Linked DNA regions of Homo sapiens: region 2 is linked to region 1. The links are contacts of gene promoters, found by promoter capture Hi-C in blood cells and fetal thymus (Javierre and others, 2016). All regions are on one chromosome and are shown on one strand. The core of a region is centred on a gene start or on the middle of the fragment in contact, and the rest is flanking DNA. Distances in the headings are between cores, read along the strand shown.

Region 1 (7,056 bases), core at 3,516-6,015:
AATCATACCTTCCCCCTGAACAGCCTCTGCCCTTCCCTCACAGAGCACCCAGAGGCCCTGTCCTGCCTACTGCTTCAACTCCGAAGAGAAAAGTGAGTTCCACTTCTGGGGCTCTTTAGCCCTCAATTTTAACATCCCAAGAGCTGCTGTGGTCTAAAGGGCTTCTGTCCTCCTCCTTATTGCCATATTTTTTCCTGTCGTTAACATCTGCTTATTCTGCCCTTCCCCCAACGTGACTTACAAATGAGCAGCTCCCCTGGGATCTGGGCTTCCTCTCGACTTTACCCCCCTGCCCACCAGGAGCTGCCCTCGGAGGTGGGGAGGTGGGGACCGGACATCCCTGTTTCCTGCTGCCACAGCAGTTCTAATCCCTGGTGGCTCCTGCTCCCCGCCGCGCCCCCCCCACCGCCCCATGCTCCTGCTGGCCACCGCACAGCTAATCCAAGAGGAGGGAGGGTCAGGGTAGAGGGGTCACGCACCATCCTCTCCCTCACCCTGTGCAGAGCAGAGCCAGCTGGACCTACTGTGCCTTGACAGGGTGGGGCAGAGAGGGAGAGGGTGGCAGCCCCCTCTTCCCGCAAAGCCCTTTAGCAACATCCCCCGATAAATGGGGCAGCAGCTGTGTATCTTATCCTTCCTACCTTTCTGCCTTCCTTCCACCCTTTCTGCTCTCTTGCCTGAGAGACTATAAATGGTACAGAGTGTCCTAGAGGAAGTGGGAAGCTTGGAGGCTGTATGGGGCTGTGACTTCACAACCCTCTCCTGCCCCCTTCCTCCAGCTGGAAGCCAGGTTGGCCCACAGCTTTAGCAGGGTAGGGGTAGGGGAGCATCTGCATGCCACATGCTTGTGCTTCTGCCTCCCAGGCCCACTCCCTGACTGTTCTAGGGGAGGAGGAGGAGAACTGAGGGTCCTCCTTCCCAACACACACACGCACACGCCTTCTCCTACCACAGCAAGTGAAGAATCTCACTTCTTCTCTCCTGGCTTCCACAGAGGATGAAACCAGGCATTCCTTGGCCTAAGGAGAAGAGGGAGAGGGATGTGAGAGTAGTGGGTGGGTGGGGAGGCCAGGGCTTGGGAAATAAGTGGGAGAGACCCAGCATGCCCTGCGGCCACTGTGCAAGCAGCACCCAGTGCCCCCTTCCTCCCCCAGGCCCAGCGAGGAGATGGTGAAGATGGTGCTGAGCCGGCCCTGCCATCCTGACGACCAGTTCACCACCAGCATCCTGCGGCACTGGTGCATGAAACATGACGAGCTGCTGGCCGAGCACATCAAGTCCCTGCTCATCAAGAACAACAGCCTGCCTCGCAAGAGACAGAGGTGGGACACGGTCCCTGTCTACCCTCCAGGCCATGGCGGTCTGCAGTGATTGCTGTCGGTGGTGGTGGTGGTGGTGGTGGTGGTGGTGATGGGGGTCAGTGCTGTCCCAGCCTGGTTTGTGGGCGACATCTAGTGGTCCGAAGCCACATGGCATGCGAGACCACCGTGGCCCTTTCTCCCCATCTTCCAGTGCCCCTGTGGCCAGGATCCCCTGTTCTAGGCACACCTTTCTCACCCAACCCCAGCCCTCCCAGGCTGCCTATCCTGTTCCCCATGTAGGCTGCCTCTGTCTTAAGGGGGCCCTGGCGGGTGGAGGGTGTCTCGCACTCTGGAACCCTCCCACACTCAGACTCTGGCTCTGGTGATTCCTGCACAGCCTGAGGAGCTCTAGCAGCAAGCTGGCCCAGCTGACTCTGGAGCAGATCCTGGAGCACTTGGACAATCTGCGGCTCAACCTGACCAACACCAAGCAGAACTGTATGCCTTCCACCCTCGGCGTCCAGTGTAGACGGTGCTGCCCTGGCCCAGACTATGCCTGGAGCCAGGCTGGGGGCAGGGGCAGGACACCCGGGGCCACAACCCACACTCGGGATAAAACAACCTGTGCGTGCTGTTTAATAAGCTCCCAGACATCTGATTGTTTTTCCTTCCCTGCTCTCCCTTTTCTTCCTCTAGTTTTTAGCCAGACGCCAATTCTCCAGGCGCTGCAGCATGTCCAAGCGAGCTGTGACGAAGCCCACAAGATGAAGTGAGGCTCCTGCCACTTTGGGCCTTGGAAAGTAGTAGGGGAAAAGCCTAAGGGAGAGGAAGCCTGCTAGGGACATAAACGTAATGGCCAGCAAGACCTTAGGGTCCAGGGTTGAAGAAAAAGAAGGCCTAGGCCTGGGGGCAGAGAAGAGGATGGGAGGTGCCGTAGGAGCAGCAGGCTCCCACTCAAAGAGCTACCGCTCCTTTTCCTTAGATTCAGTGATCTCTTCTCCCTGGCGGAGGAATATGAGGACTCTTCCACCAAGCCACCCAAGAGCCGGCGAAAAGCAGCTCTGTCCAGCCCTCGAAGTCGAAAGAATGCCACACAGCCCCCCAATGCCGAAGAAGAGTCGGGCTCCAGCAGTGCTTCAGTGAGAACCCAGCCAGTGCACAGGGGGAAAAGGAGCACTGGGTGCAGGTGGAGTCGGCGCCAGCAGCTGCCCAGGCTGTTAACTTCCCATTTCCCCTCCCATCTCTTCCAGGAAGAGGAAGACACGAAACCGAAGCCTACCAAGCGGAAACGAAAAGGGTCCTCTGCAGTGGGCTCTGACAGTGACTGAGGCCCTGCATTCCCCATCCCACCCCCGGCTGGACTGCCCTCTCCTTCTTGGTGATTCAAAGGTTAATAGAGGCTGAGGAGATTGCAGGGGAAACACCCTTGCTGCATCCCCAAGCTCCCCCGGTGGAAGGAGGAGCTTTCTCCTCTGGCTGAGTTTGAGAAGCTGCCATGCAGCCCCTAGCCCCTTCCCTCCTCCTGGGGCCTCCAGCCCCTCACACTGCTGTTCCCAGTGATATTTGGGATCTGACTGAAGCCAGAGGCTCTGTAAAATCAGACCATAGTGGAAGTCCTCAGCCCCCTGGCCCCTTCCGCAATCTCCTCCCCCAGTCTCCCAAAGAGCCATTTCAACAGAGAAGGGAAATGACAAAGGGGCAGCTGGCCAGATAAGCTAGGATGAGAGCAGAGACTCAGTGTGTGGGTGTCCCTTCCTGCTTCCCCTTCAGGTCTTGGTTTGTTCTGAAGGGACGTTTTATAGTCACTATCCACATGCCAGTGTGAAATGGGCATCTATGACGTGGTCAGGGTGTCCATTCCTAATCATGGGGCAGATGCCACAAGCATTCAGAAAGGAGTCTGAAAGGGTGGCCACAGCCCCACGTGGTGTGCCCTGGAGGCTTAGGTTGGTCTGAGGTTGGCACCTCAATCTACACCAGAGCCCAGGGAGTCCCAGAGGCAAGTTTCACAGAATTGTCAAATGATCCCATTTCCTTGAGTCTGTTTTTTTTTTTGTTTTTTTTTGTTTTTTTTTTGGCAGAGATAATCGTGTCTTAAAAGTTGTTTTTAAATGACAATAAAACAAGCCAGAATGTCTTTTGTGCTGGAGTGTCTGCTGGCATTTGCCCCGTGCATGTATAGCTTGGTCTTGATTTGATTGGCACCCCTACTTGTAACCGCAGAACATCCCCCTTTCCCTTCCTGTTCTGCCCCCACTTTTGTCTAGAGCAGAAGGGACTTGGCTTTGGCCACTACCCATCCTTCCTGCTGCCACTGGAGGTGGGAGCCAGGCACTGATCTGTCTATGCAGAACCATCCCCCGTAGGATGAGGCCTGTCCTTACTCATTTCTCAAGAAACAAGATGCTTCCAAAAGGTCTGTCATCCTCCAGTTGAAGTCTGTGTGCCTACCAAGAATGGCCGGAGGACTCGCTGCTTGACGGGAGGGATGCTCCAGCTTGGTCTCCAGGGACAACTGTACCTGGAGATAAAGTCTGGATACCAGGGAGGGACAGAGATGCTCTTCCTTCCACAGTGTGGCCACTTGCTGGGCCATGTGAACCAGCAGAGGAGAGTTCCTTGGCTATGCTGTTGTTCCCCCGCTGTCCAGGGAGAATGGAGGTGGACTGAGGAGTGAAGTTTGGGCGAACTGCACAGAGCTGCTCCTCTTCACCCCGAAAATTTGTCTTTTTACAGAATCCAGGTTCTCCCCTCCCTCATCACTGCTGTTGCTTCCTTTGAAAGTCTAAACCACTGGAGGCTTCTTTTTCCTTCCTCTCTCCTTCCCCAGTTTCCTCTGTCCCAATTAAAACCAGGATGGAGAGCATTTGCTGGCTGGCCCCAATTATTGTACCCTTGCCCAAAGGGAGGGGCCTCTGTCGTGACCCCTCAGAAATCTGGCAGTCTGGGTTTCCACCTTTCCCCTATTTAACTCTCAGCCCCCACCCATCCCCTGGGGTTGCGGCTGGCAGGCCGGGACTTGCAGAACCAAATGGGCCAGGGGCCAAGTTCATTCTTTTGGGAGAGAGCAATGGTACCTTCCCTTAACGGGAAAACGAGAAATATTGAGGGGAAGATGGACTGCGATCCAAACGCCCTGGCTCTCAGGCCTGGACTCTAGGGCTTAGCCAGATGCCTAAACCGCCCAAGCCGAGAAACAACTTAGAAGACAGACATAACCCTGGGATTCAGGGAAGGCGCGAGCACCGCCCAGGACCTGGTAGGGTGCGAGCCGCGAGCAGTCCGGGAGGGAGCGCGCCTAGGGCGGAGCGTAGGCTGTGGGGGGAGGGCTGGGAGTCCGGGGCCGCCCCACACCCGCACTCCTCCCGGGTTTCTGCTCTCCGCCCGTGTGGAGTGGTGGGGGCCTGGGTGGGAATGGGCGTGTGCCAGCGCACGCGCGCTCCCTGGAAGGAGAAGTCTCAGCTAGAACGAGCGGCCCTAGGTTTTCGGAAGGGAGGATCAGGGATGTTTGCGAGCGGCTGGAACCAGACGGTGCCGATAGAGGAAGCGGGCTCCATGGCTGCCCTCCTGCTGCTGCCCCTGCTGCTGTTGCTACCGCTGCTGCTGCTGAAGCTACACCTCTGGCCGCAGTTGCGCTGGCTTCCGGCGGACTTGGCCTTTGCGGTGCGAGCTCTGTGCTGCAAAAGGGCTCTTCGAGCTCGCGCCCTGGCCGCGGCTGCCGCCGACCCGGAAGGTCCCGAGGGGGGCTGCAGCCTGGCCTGGCGCCTCGCGGAACTGGCCCAGCAGCGCGCCGCGCACACCTTTCTCATTCACGGCTCGCGGCGCTTTAGCTACTCAGAGGCGGAGCGCGAGAGTAACAGGGCTGCACGCGCCTTCCTACGTGCGCTAGGCTGGGACTGGGGACCCGACGGCGGCGACAGCGGCGAGGGGAGCGCTGGAGAAGGCGAGCGGGCAGCGCCGGGAGCCGGAGATGCAGCGGCCGGAAGCGGCGCGGAGTTTGCCGGAGGGGACGGTGCCGCCAGAGGTGGAGGAGCCGCCGCCCCTCTGTCACCTGGAGCAACTGTGGCGCTGCTCCTCCCCGCTGGCCCAGAGTTTCTGTGGCTCTGGTTCGGGCTGGCCAAGGCCGGCCTGCGCACTGCCTTTGTGCCCACCGCCCTGCGCCGGGGCCCCCTGCTGCACTGCCTCCGCAGCTGCGGCGCGCGCGCGCTGGTGCTGGCGCCAGGTAAGGCTGGAGCTCCGAACTGACTAAGGCGGGGCCAGCCACAGAAGGGGGCGTGTCGGAGACCACAGAAAGGCTTGGTCTCATCCCTGGGCCTGGGAAGAAGCCGACTATCCCTTGGGGTTCGAAAGTGGGTGGAGATAGGAGTCTCCGGGTTTGAGAAGGGATGAGGCTGAATCTTTGGTGCCCCAAGGATCCCCAAGGAGTCGAGTTCCAGGCCTCAGACCCAAGATGGAATGTCCATACCCTTCACCCTCATCCAAGAGCAGTGTGGGCTGGGATAGGGAGGGGACATGGGTCATAGGCTCTTCTAGGTAGAGCCAGGGCCCCGGCGTTGTGCTTTCCCACCCTTCTAGAGTTTCTGGAGTCCCTGGAGCCGGACCTGCCCGCCCTGAGAGCCATGGGGCTCCACCTGTGGGCTGCAGGCCCAGGAACCCACCCTGCTGGAATTAGCGATTTGCTGGCTGAAGTGTCCGCTGAAGTGGATGGGCCAGTGCCAGGATACCTCTCTTCCCCCCAGAGCATAACAGACACGTGCCTGTACATCTTCACCTCTGGCACCACGGGTGAGGGCCGGGCACCATACTTAGCTCCCCGAAACCAAGGCAGAGGAAGGCAGGGGTCTGCTCCCAGACCACTCCTTCAAAGCCCCCAGAGAGGATGCTGATTTCATTGGCACATCCTTTTTCTCCCCATCATTTCACTCCCCAGTCTCCTCACCTCCTACTCATTTCTCCACCTCCCCCAGACCACCCATATTTCCAGGACAGCCTGGTCTCGGTCCTCAGCTTCTGTCCTGCCTCCGCCTCTTTCTGTGGGAAACCCAGCGGGGGTGCAAACAGATAGGTAGAGCTTGGAGTTTGCCCTTCCCCTGATCGTCCCATAACTGCCACCCCACAGGCCTCCCCAAGGCTGCTCGGATCAGTCATCTGAAGATCCTGCAATGCCAGGGCTTCTATCAGCTGTGTGGTGTCCACCAGGAAGATGTGATCTACCTCGCCCTCCCACTCTACCACATGTCCGGTTCCCTGCTGGGCATCGTGGGCTGCATGGGCATTGGTCAGTCTCCCCAACCCCACCTTCATTAATTCATCCAGTAGACATTTATTAAGCACGTACTATGGTGTGAGTCCTCCAGGGTAGATAATCTAGAGGACGGATGGGGCAGAGCCCTACTCACCAGGAGCTCTGTACAATAGGGCAATGTCACCTGCCTAGACCTACAGACTGAGGAACGGTGAGGGGGGCCATACAGCCACATAACTCCAGGCTGCAGGGTCAAAGGCAGGGAAGGACTGTGTCAGTCCAGGAACAGGCAAGTAAGAGAAGAGGGAGAGAGAGACAAGGAAGTGAGAGTGTGGAGGATGAGATCTTTGGGGCTGGGAAGTAGGGAAAGGGCATTCACCTCTTCTAAGGCTGGGGACAGGGGCCGGGGGAGGGGAAAGAGGGCCAGCACGGCTTCCTGACGGTGTGACTCCCACAGTGGGCCCTTCCCAGGGAAAGACTACAGTGATGGCTGGGGTCTGGAAAGAGGGG
Region 2 (7,350 bases), core at 3,078-5,577, 110 kb after region 1:
ATTATTCCACTTTCCTGTGTCATAGCTAGAACACTTTACTCTTTGCATTCTAGCACCTCCTCACCTACCACATCCCACTTACCACACACACATCCCTATGTCATTCTATAGACAAATCCAGATGCTAGACATACCTAAGCCTGGTCTCTGATTAACTTTCCCTTTCCTGTTTTAGAGCAACTTGTTCCAATCATTTTATAAGGACTTTTCACTTCCCCAAAGTGCTGATATGGGGTCAGAAAATAGTGGGGAAGAAATCTAAGTAAACCAAAGAGGAAGAAGGGCAATGGTAATTGTTTTCTTGGAGATCTATTGGCTGAGGACCTTTGCTCTAGGATCTTTCTCTATCTGATCAACTAGTTATAAATTGTAACAAGGAATAACAAGGGGGGAGGGATTTTCTTACTTTTCAACTGATATCTCCCATGAATATGTCATTCCAAATGCTTGCCTCATTTGGACCTCTGAAATTCACATCATAATTACTGCCTCCATCAGAGTCTCTCACAAAGCCCTTGTTCTCAAATATTAAAGTTTCTAGCAAACATGGAGAAAAATAATCTTCACCCTACGCAAAAATATTATTTCTAAATAAAAGTTTTCCTGAGCCATATAATATTAACTTCAATTTTCAGAAAACTAACACCGAGCTAAATCAAAACTAAGTAGTACTGGCCACTGGCATAAGAAATTCAACAATTTACAAACTACAAAGGAAAACCCTTTATCTACAACACAACATGAGCTTCAAGTGGTTGATACCGTACTATCTCAGTCACAATAAGGTCCTCTTAATAGGAGACCATCAGAGGTATCCAGATCTAGACACTGCTATCATTTTACAACATAAAGGAAAACATGATAAATGTCGCAAGCAAAATAGATTATTTCTTCTCATTCATCACATTTCCACAGGAAACCAATTATGAATTTTAAACTGAAGCTCACTAGTTCCATGTTGATGATGGTAAGTATGATTGTCTATTTTTTAACAACCCATTCAAAGATAATTCCCACGTGAGTCTGCTGAATACATCTGACTGCACTGGTCTTTTTTTTTTTTCTTTTTTATCAGTTTTTAATATAAAAAGCTTAGATACAATTAAGCTGTCTGTAGCAATTACCATTGATTGCCATGAGTTAAATCTTCAACATTGTAGAGGCTGAGGCAGTACTCTACGTTTACTATATCTCCCTCTATATGTTGGATTGATTAGTAGTCCAGAGGTACCTTCAGAGCCTTGGAAAATTAAGAACTATATAGTGGGCAGAGACCCTACTCTTTTCAGCTAAATCATACTCACCCAAAACCAAAGTACTTAATTGTGTGAGGTGAAAACTAAATTTAAAAATACTTCCTCTTTGCCAGGCGTGGTGGCTCACGCCTATAATCCCAGCACTTTGGGAGGCTGAGGCGGGCAGACCACCTGAGGCCCGGAGTTCGACACCAGCCTGGCCAACACGGTGAAACCCCATCTCTACTAAAAATACAAAAATTAGCCTGGCGTTGCAGGCACAGTGGCTCATGCCTATAATCCCAGCACTTTGGGAGGCCGAGGCGGGCAGATCACGAGGTCAGGAGATCAAGACCATTCTGGCTAACACGGTGAAACCCGTCTCTACTAAAAATACAAAAAAATTAGCCAGGCGTGGTGATGGCGGGTGCCTGTAGTCCCAGCTACTCCGGAGGCTGAGGCGGGAGAATGGCCTGAACCCGGGAGGCAGAGCTTGCAGTGAGCTGAGATCGCTCCACTGCACTCCAGCCTGGGCGACAGAGCGAGACTCCACCTCAAAAAAAAAATTAGCCGGGCATGGTGGCAGGTGCCTGTAATCCCAGCTACTGGGGAGGCTGAGGCAGGAGAATCGTCTGAACCTGGGAGGATGACGCTGCAGTGAGCCGAGATCGTGCCACTGCACTCCAGCCTGGGGGACAAGAGTGAGACTTCATCTCAAAAACAAAAACAAAAAAACTTCCTCTTGGTAAATATTACTCAAGTTGTGATACCCTAAAGAATACCAAATTATCTAAAGTTAAGAAAAAGATCTACATTCACTGAGCATTTAATGCACCAAGCCAGGAAGGTAGGATCTTTTCTCCATTTTCTTTTTATTTATTTCTTTTTTTCGAGACAGTCTCGCTCCGTTGCCCAGCTGGAGTGCAATGGTGCGATCTCAGCTCACTGCAACCTCTGCCTCCCGGGCTGAAGCAATTCTCCTGCCTCAGCCTCCCAAGCAGCTGGGATTACACGGGCCTGCCACCACACCCAGCTAATTTTTGTATTTTTAGTAGAGACAGGGTTTCACCATGTTGGCCAGGCTGGTCTCAAACTACTGGCCTGAAGAGATCCTCCCGCTTCGGCCTCCCAAAGTGCTGAGATTACAGGTGTGAGCCAATGTGCCCGGCCCTGTTCTCCATCTTCTGGATATGGAAATTAATTCAGTGAAATTTTAAAAAGCTTAAATGAAGTCACTCATACAGCTCACAATTAGAGGCTGGCTCCAAAGCCCATATGCTTTCCACTATACCACGATGCCTTGAGCATTTCTCAGCACTCAAAAGCCCAGTTCTCCAGGGTAACCATGCTTGCCTTGCCAATCTCCACTTTACCCACTGGATTAAAGAAAATATTAGCCAAATATGATGGAAGTAAAAACACATAAAGTCTCTGACAGACATGTATGATCTCCACTCATAGATGATTTCACCCAGGACTACTTCTGAAAAGCTAAGGACATGAGCTTCAAGTCAGTGACAAGTAAAGGAAAAATATTTAAATTTTAAAAAAGGGGCTGGGCATGGTGGCTCACACTTGCAATCCTAGCACTTTGGGAGGCAGAGGCAGGTGGATCATCTGAGGTTAGGAGTTCGAGACCAGCCTGGCCAACATGGTGAAACCCCGTCTCTACTAAAAATACAAAAACTAGCTGAGTGTGGGCTGGGCGCGGTGGCTCATGCCTGTAATCCCAGCACTTTGGGAGGCCAAGGTGGGTGGATCACGAGGAGATTGAGACCATCCTGGCTAACATGGTGAAACCCCATCTCTACTAAAAAGACAAAAAAATTAGCCGGGCGTGGTGGTGGGCACCTGTAGTCCCAGCTACTCAGGAGGCTGAGGCAGAAGAATGGTGTGAACCCAGGAGGCGGAGCTTGCAGTGAGCCAAGACGGCGCCACTGCTCTCCAGCCTGGGCGACAGAGCAAGACTCCGTCTCCAAAAAAAAAAAAAAAAAAGGAAGACTAAAGATCTAAAGATGTACAACCTAGATACAAAAAGAATTTGATAAATGCTGTCTGGGAGGATCAAATCACAAAGAATAGCATAAGAAAAGAGGTGATATCCAGGCTTAGGCAACAGAGTTCAAATTGATTGCAACTGAATGCTTAAAGGTACTCCTACAAAAGAAATGTAAACTTCATAGAACCACTTAACAAAAACTCAGTAATATCATAAACTGGCAAAAACAGTCGTTATCTTTGCCCTTTACAAATTTTATAAATAACTTGTTAAATCTTTGTCCCCATTTTAACATACAGTTATGTGTTGCTTAACAACAGGGATACATTCTGAAAAATACATGATTAGGTGATTTCACCGTTGTGTGAACATTGTAAAGTGTATTTAAACAAACCTAGATGGTATAGCCTATTGCTCCTAGGCTATAAACCTATATAGTATAGTCTGTTACTATACTGGCAATTATAACACAATGGTAAGTATTTGTTTAAACATATCTAAACATAGAAAATGTATGGCAAAAGTATGATGTTACAACCTTATGGGACTACCATTACGTGAGGCATGACTGTATATCCTTGGACTCAGCAATCAGATCAGTATTAGAACCATTACAAACGCTGAAAAATAGTTTTCCTTTTTTTTTTTTTTTTTTTTTTTGAGACGGAGTCTCGCTCTGTCGCCCAGGCTGGAGTGCAGTGGCGCTATCTCAGCTTAGTGCAAGCTCTGCCTCCCGGGTTCACGCCATTCTCCTGTCTGAGCTTCCCGACTAGCTGGGACCTCAGCCTCTCGACTAGCTGGGACTACAGGTGCCTGCCAACACGCCCGGCTAATTTTTTTTTTTTTCGTATTTTTAGTAGAGACGGGGTTTCACTGTGTTAGCGAGGATGGTCTCAATCTTCTGACCTCATGATCCGCCCACCTCAGCCTCCCAAAGCACTGGGATTACAGGCATGAGCCACTGCGTCTGGCCGAAAAATAGCTGTTTTTTTAAAAAGCCAACATTATGCTGAAACATGGCTAAATGGTTAACTTACACTTAAAATTATTCACTGGTGTCCAATAATACAAGCCAAAATTTGTTTATCTAGCTGTTAGTCCTCTCCTACTTCTTATAGTCCTGTCTGCTTTGAGTCGGTCCAGTCTATTTGGAGAAATCAGACCACAATGCTTCAAAATTACTATTACAACAACAAATCAGATCACAGAACAGCCAAACCCCATTCATATGGTCAAAAAGTTACATTTTTTCTTCATTAAACAGAAAATAGCTCAACTGGTCAAAAGAAAACATCAGTTCTTTGGAGATGAGGATTCCTCTCCACATGTTTAGAAATAGCACACCAGGCAATCAAGCACTAATACAAAGAAAACCATTTGCTTTCCCAATCCCTGATACACAAATTGGGAATCACACCCAACCTAATGTGCACTGCTGAGTTCTCTGGAAAAAGGCAGTTTAGTCTAACAAGGGAAGTCAGTTTTCAATCACTTGGGAGTTACCAATCAATGACTGATTGATTGACAAGTGAAGTAAGTGTCTACCACTATTTGGGAAGATGTATTTATCAAAATTTTGGCTAAAGTAAAAACTAGGTACACTACCTTATAATGCAGAATATGGACTAGTTCTTAACACAGACACAAGAAATGAGAACAAGACTTCGAGTCCTGAGACAGCATTTAAATTAGGGAGTACTGTTCTCAAAGTAGTACTCCTATTTTATTTTTTTTAAAGAGACAAGGTTTCGCTGTGTTGTCCCAGTGGCTGGGACTAAGGTGTGTGCCACTGTACACAGTCAAAGCATATTCCTTAATGTGTTAACTCATTATGGGTTTACAGGAAGTAAGATAACTGTAGAGGCCTTCAAGACTTCTATTGACTCAAGTATTGCAAATAAGCATAAAAAATTACTGCAGGCTGGGTGTGGTGGTTCATGCCTGTAATCTCAGTACTCTGGGAGGCCAAGGCAGCTGGATCACTTGAGGACAGGAGTTGGAAACCACCGTGGCCAACATGGTGAAACCCTGTCTCTACTAAAAATACAAAAATTAGCCGGGCATGGTGGCAGGCACCTGTAATCCCAGCTAATCAGGAGGTTAAGGCAGGAGAATCACTTGAACCTGGGAGGCGGAGGTTGCAGTGAGCTGAGATCGCGCCACTGCACTCCAGCCTGGGCAACACAGTGAGGCTCTATCTCAAAAAAAAAAAAAAAATTACTGCCATACACTACTCAATGACTTAATCATCATACAGGAACAGAGAAAATAAACAGATCAACTTTTTCATTTATCATACAGCACAAGATGTGTCTAGGCCAATCTCTTCTGTAAGGGTGGTATACATTTTCCTAAGGCAACTGGGGGATTCCACTGCCTATCCTTGGAAAAAAAACCATGAAAATCATATGGAGCATTATATTAGTATTTAATACCTACAGAATAATTTCTGTCTTCCAAAAGACAAAGTATCTCTAGTAGTGTCTACAAGATAGTACCTAACTAGAATAGTCCTAAATCCCTAACTTATTCTCATCCTGTATCAGCAGCATGCTATTGATTCCCAGTGATGAGGTGTGCAAATACTTCATTTCTTAATACTTGATTGCTGATTATTTTCATTCACTCCGATCTGTACCTTCCCTCTATCTTTGCAGGGGGACCAAGTTCTTTTTAGGCAAGTCACAAATGTTCATACTTTTCTGACAACAAAAATTAAACTTGAACATCTAAATGTGCTAACAACTGTTATCAACTAAGTGCCACAGACGAAAGAGAAAGTAGTTTTAGTAGTCACGTTTATCTCTTTTGCCACAGAGTTTCTAAGCACTTGAGTTCTACTTTTTGGCCTGGCTTTTTGCTGTTACTAAGTATCTAAGTGTCTCTTCCTCTCTAGCGTTCCAAGAGTAGAAATCCCAGCTTATCAACAGTTTCACTTAGAGCTTCAGACATTTTACTCTACATTAAGCTTCTCATCTTTCACTTCTGTTGTGAAGGTTGCTCTTATCTTTATCCTCTGAAATCATAAACAATGCAAAAAAGAAAAAAATATATAGCTACCCTCTATATAGTGACGTTCTACTCAATCTCTGACTTAAGAGCCCCAAACCATGAGGAGTAATAATAGAAAACCTAAGACTAAAATGTAAGTTATCACAGCCATACAGTCAGTGACTTCCATAAATCTTTTAATTTGCCCTCCACTTTAATAATCACCTCACTGAATTGCTATGTTCAACAGGCTATACTAGAACTAGATCTAATTATTGAATAAAAATAGAATGTATCAGGCCGGGTGTGGTGGCTCACCTGAGGTCGGGAGTTCGAGACAAGCCTGACCAACATGGAAAAAACCTATCTCTACTAAAAATACAAAATTAGCAGGGCGTGGTGGCACATCCCTGTAATCCCAGCTACTCGGTGGGCTGAGGCAGGAGAATTGCTTGAACCCAGGAGGCGGACGTTCTGGTGAACCGAGATCGTGCCATTGCACTCCAGCCTGGGCAACAAGAGCGAAACCCCGTCTCCAAAAAAAAAAAAAAAAAAAAAAACACACAAAACAAAGAATGTACCATGTATATTTATAAATCACTCTGGGCAGGCAAGTTCAGAATTTACTTCACTCAAACTTGGTAGACTTGTGAGCCATCCAATTATCGGAATTTCAAGACAATCACACAATTAACCCCCCTCATAATTACACTAATGAGAAAGATGGAGACAACATAAAAGGAAACAGCTGGCAAGAGGAAAGTTGTAGATGCGTGAACGTCAAATTTAAAATACACTCACATGTTACTTATTTTCATATGTTCTCTGTATTTTCAACATTAAAATTAACTGTAAAGAATAGCAAAATGTTAGTAATTTTTGAAGCTTGTGGTGGGCACATGAAAGTTAATTACTTTGTACTCTATTTGGGTATGTAAGTTCTTCAGAATACAAAATAAAAAAAGTCACAGGAAATTTACAAACATCTACATTATCAATAGAAAGATAAGAGGCCAGTGGGGCGCGGTGGCTCACGCCTGTAATCTCAGCACTTTGGGAGGCCAAGGTGGGCAGATCACCTGAGGTCGGGAGTTGGAGACCAGCCTGACTAACATGGAGAAACTT

The links. Contacts are between HindIII fragments. The CHiCAGO score rates a contact against its expected background, and 5 or more counts as called.
Region 2: a fragment that was not itself captured here is called in contact with the fragment with the promoter of SLC27A3 in region 1 in 2 of 17 cell types (monocytes and M1 macrophages); the score reaches 5.7 in monocytes.

What each region holds. Positions count from the first base shown.
Region 1 is chr1:153,770,642-153,777,697 of GRCh38, forward strand. It overlaps SLC27A3 (solute carrier family 27 member 3), which reads left to right and starts at 4,766. Exons shown (of 10, transcript NM_024330.4): 1 at 4,766-5,523; 2 at 5,877-6,086; 3 at 6,421-6,579. The coding sequence starts at 4,857. INTS3 (integrator complex subunit 3) reads left to right here. Exons shown (of 30, transcript NM_023015.5): 25 at 44-92; 26 at 1,155-1,322; 27 at 1,699-1,799; 28 at 1,998-2,070; 29 at 2,284-2,440; 30 at 2,552-4,167. The coding sequence ends at 2,629. RefSeq lists an enhancer at 5,167-5,833 and a silencer at 5,202-5,393. The HindIII fragment of the contact is 7,576 bases long and covers 722-7,056 here.
Region 2 is chr1:153,882,652-153,890,001 of GRCh38, forward strand. All of the region lies in intron 1 of GATAD2B (GATA zinc finger domain containing 2B), which reads right to left. Among named protein-coding and RNA genes, the nearest start is that of GATAD2B, 37 kb to the right of the region's middle. The HindIII fragment of the contact is 3,746 bases long and covers 2,455-6,200 here.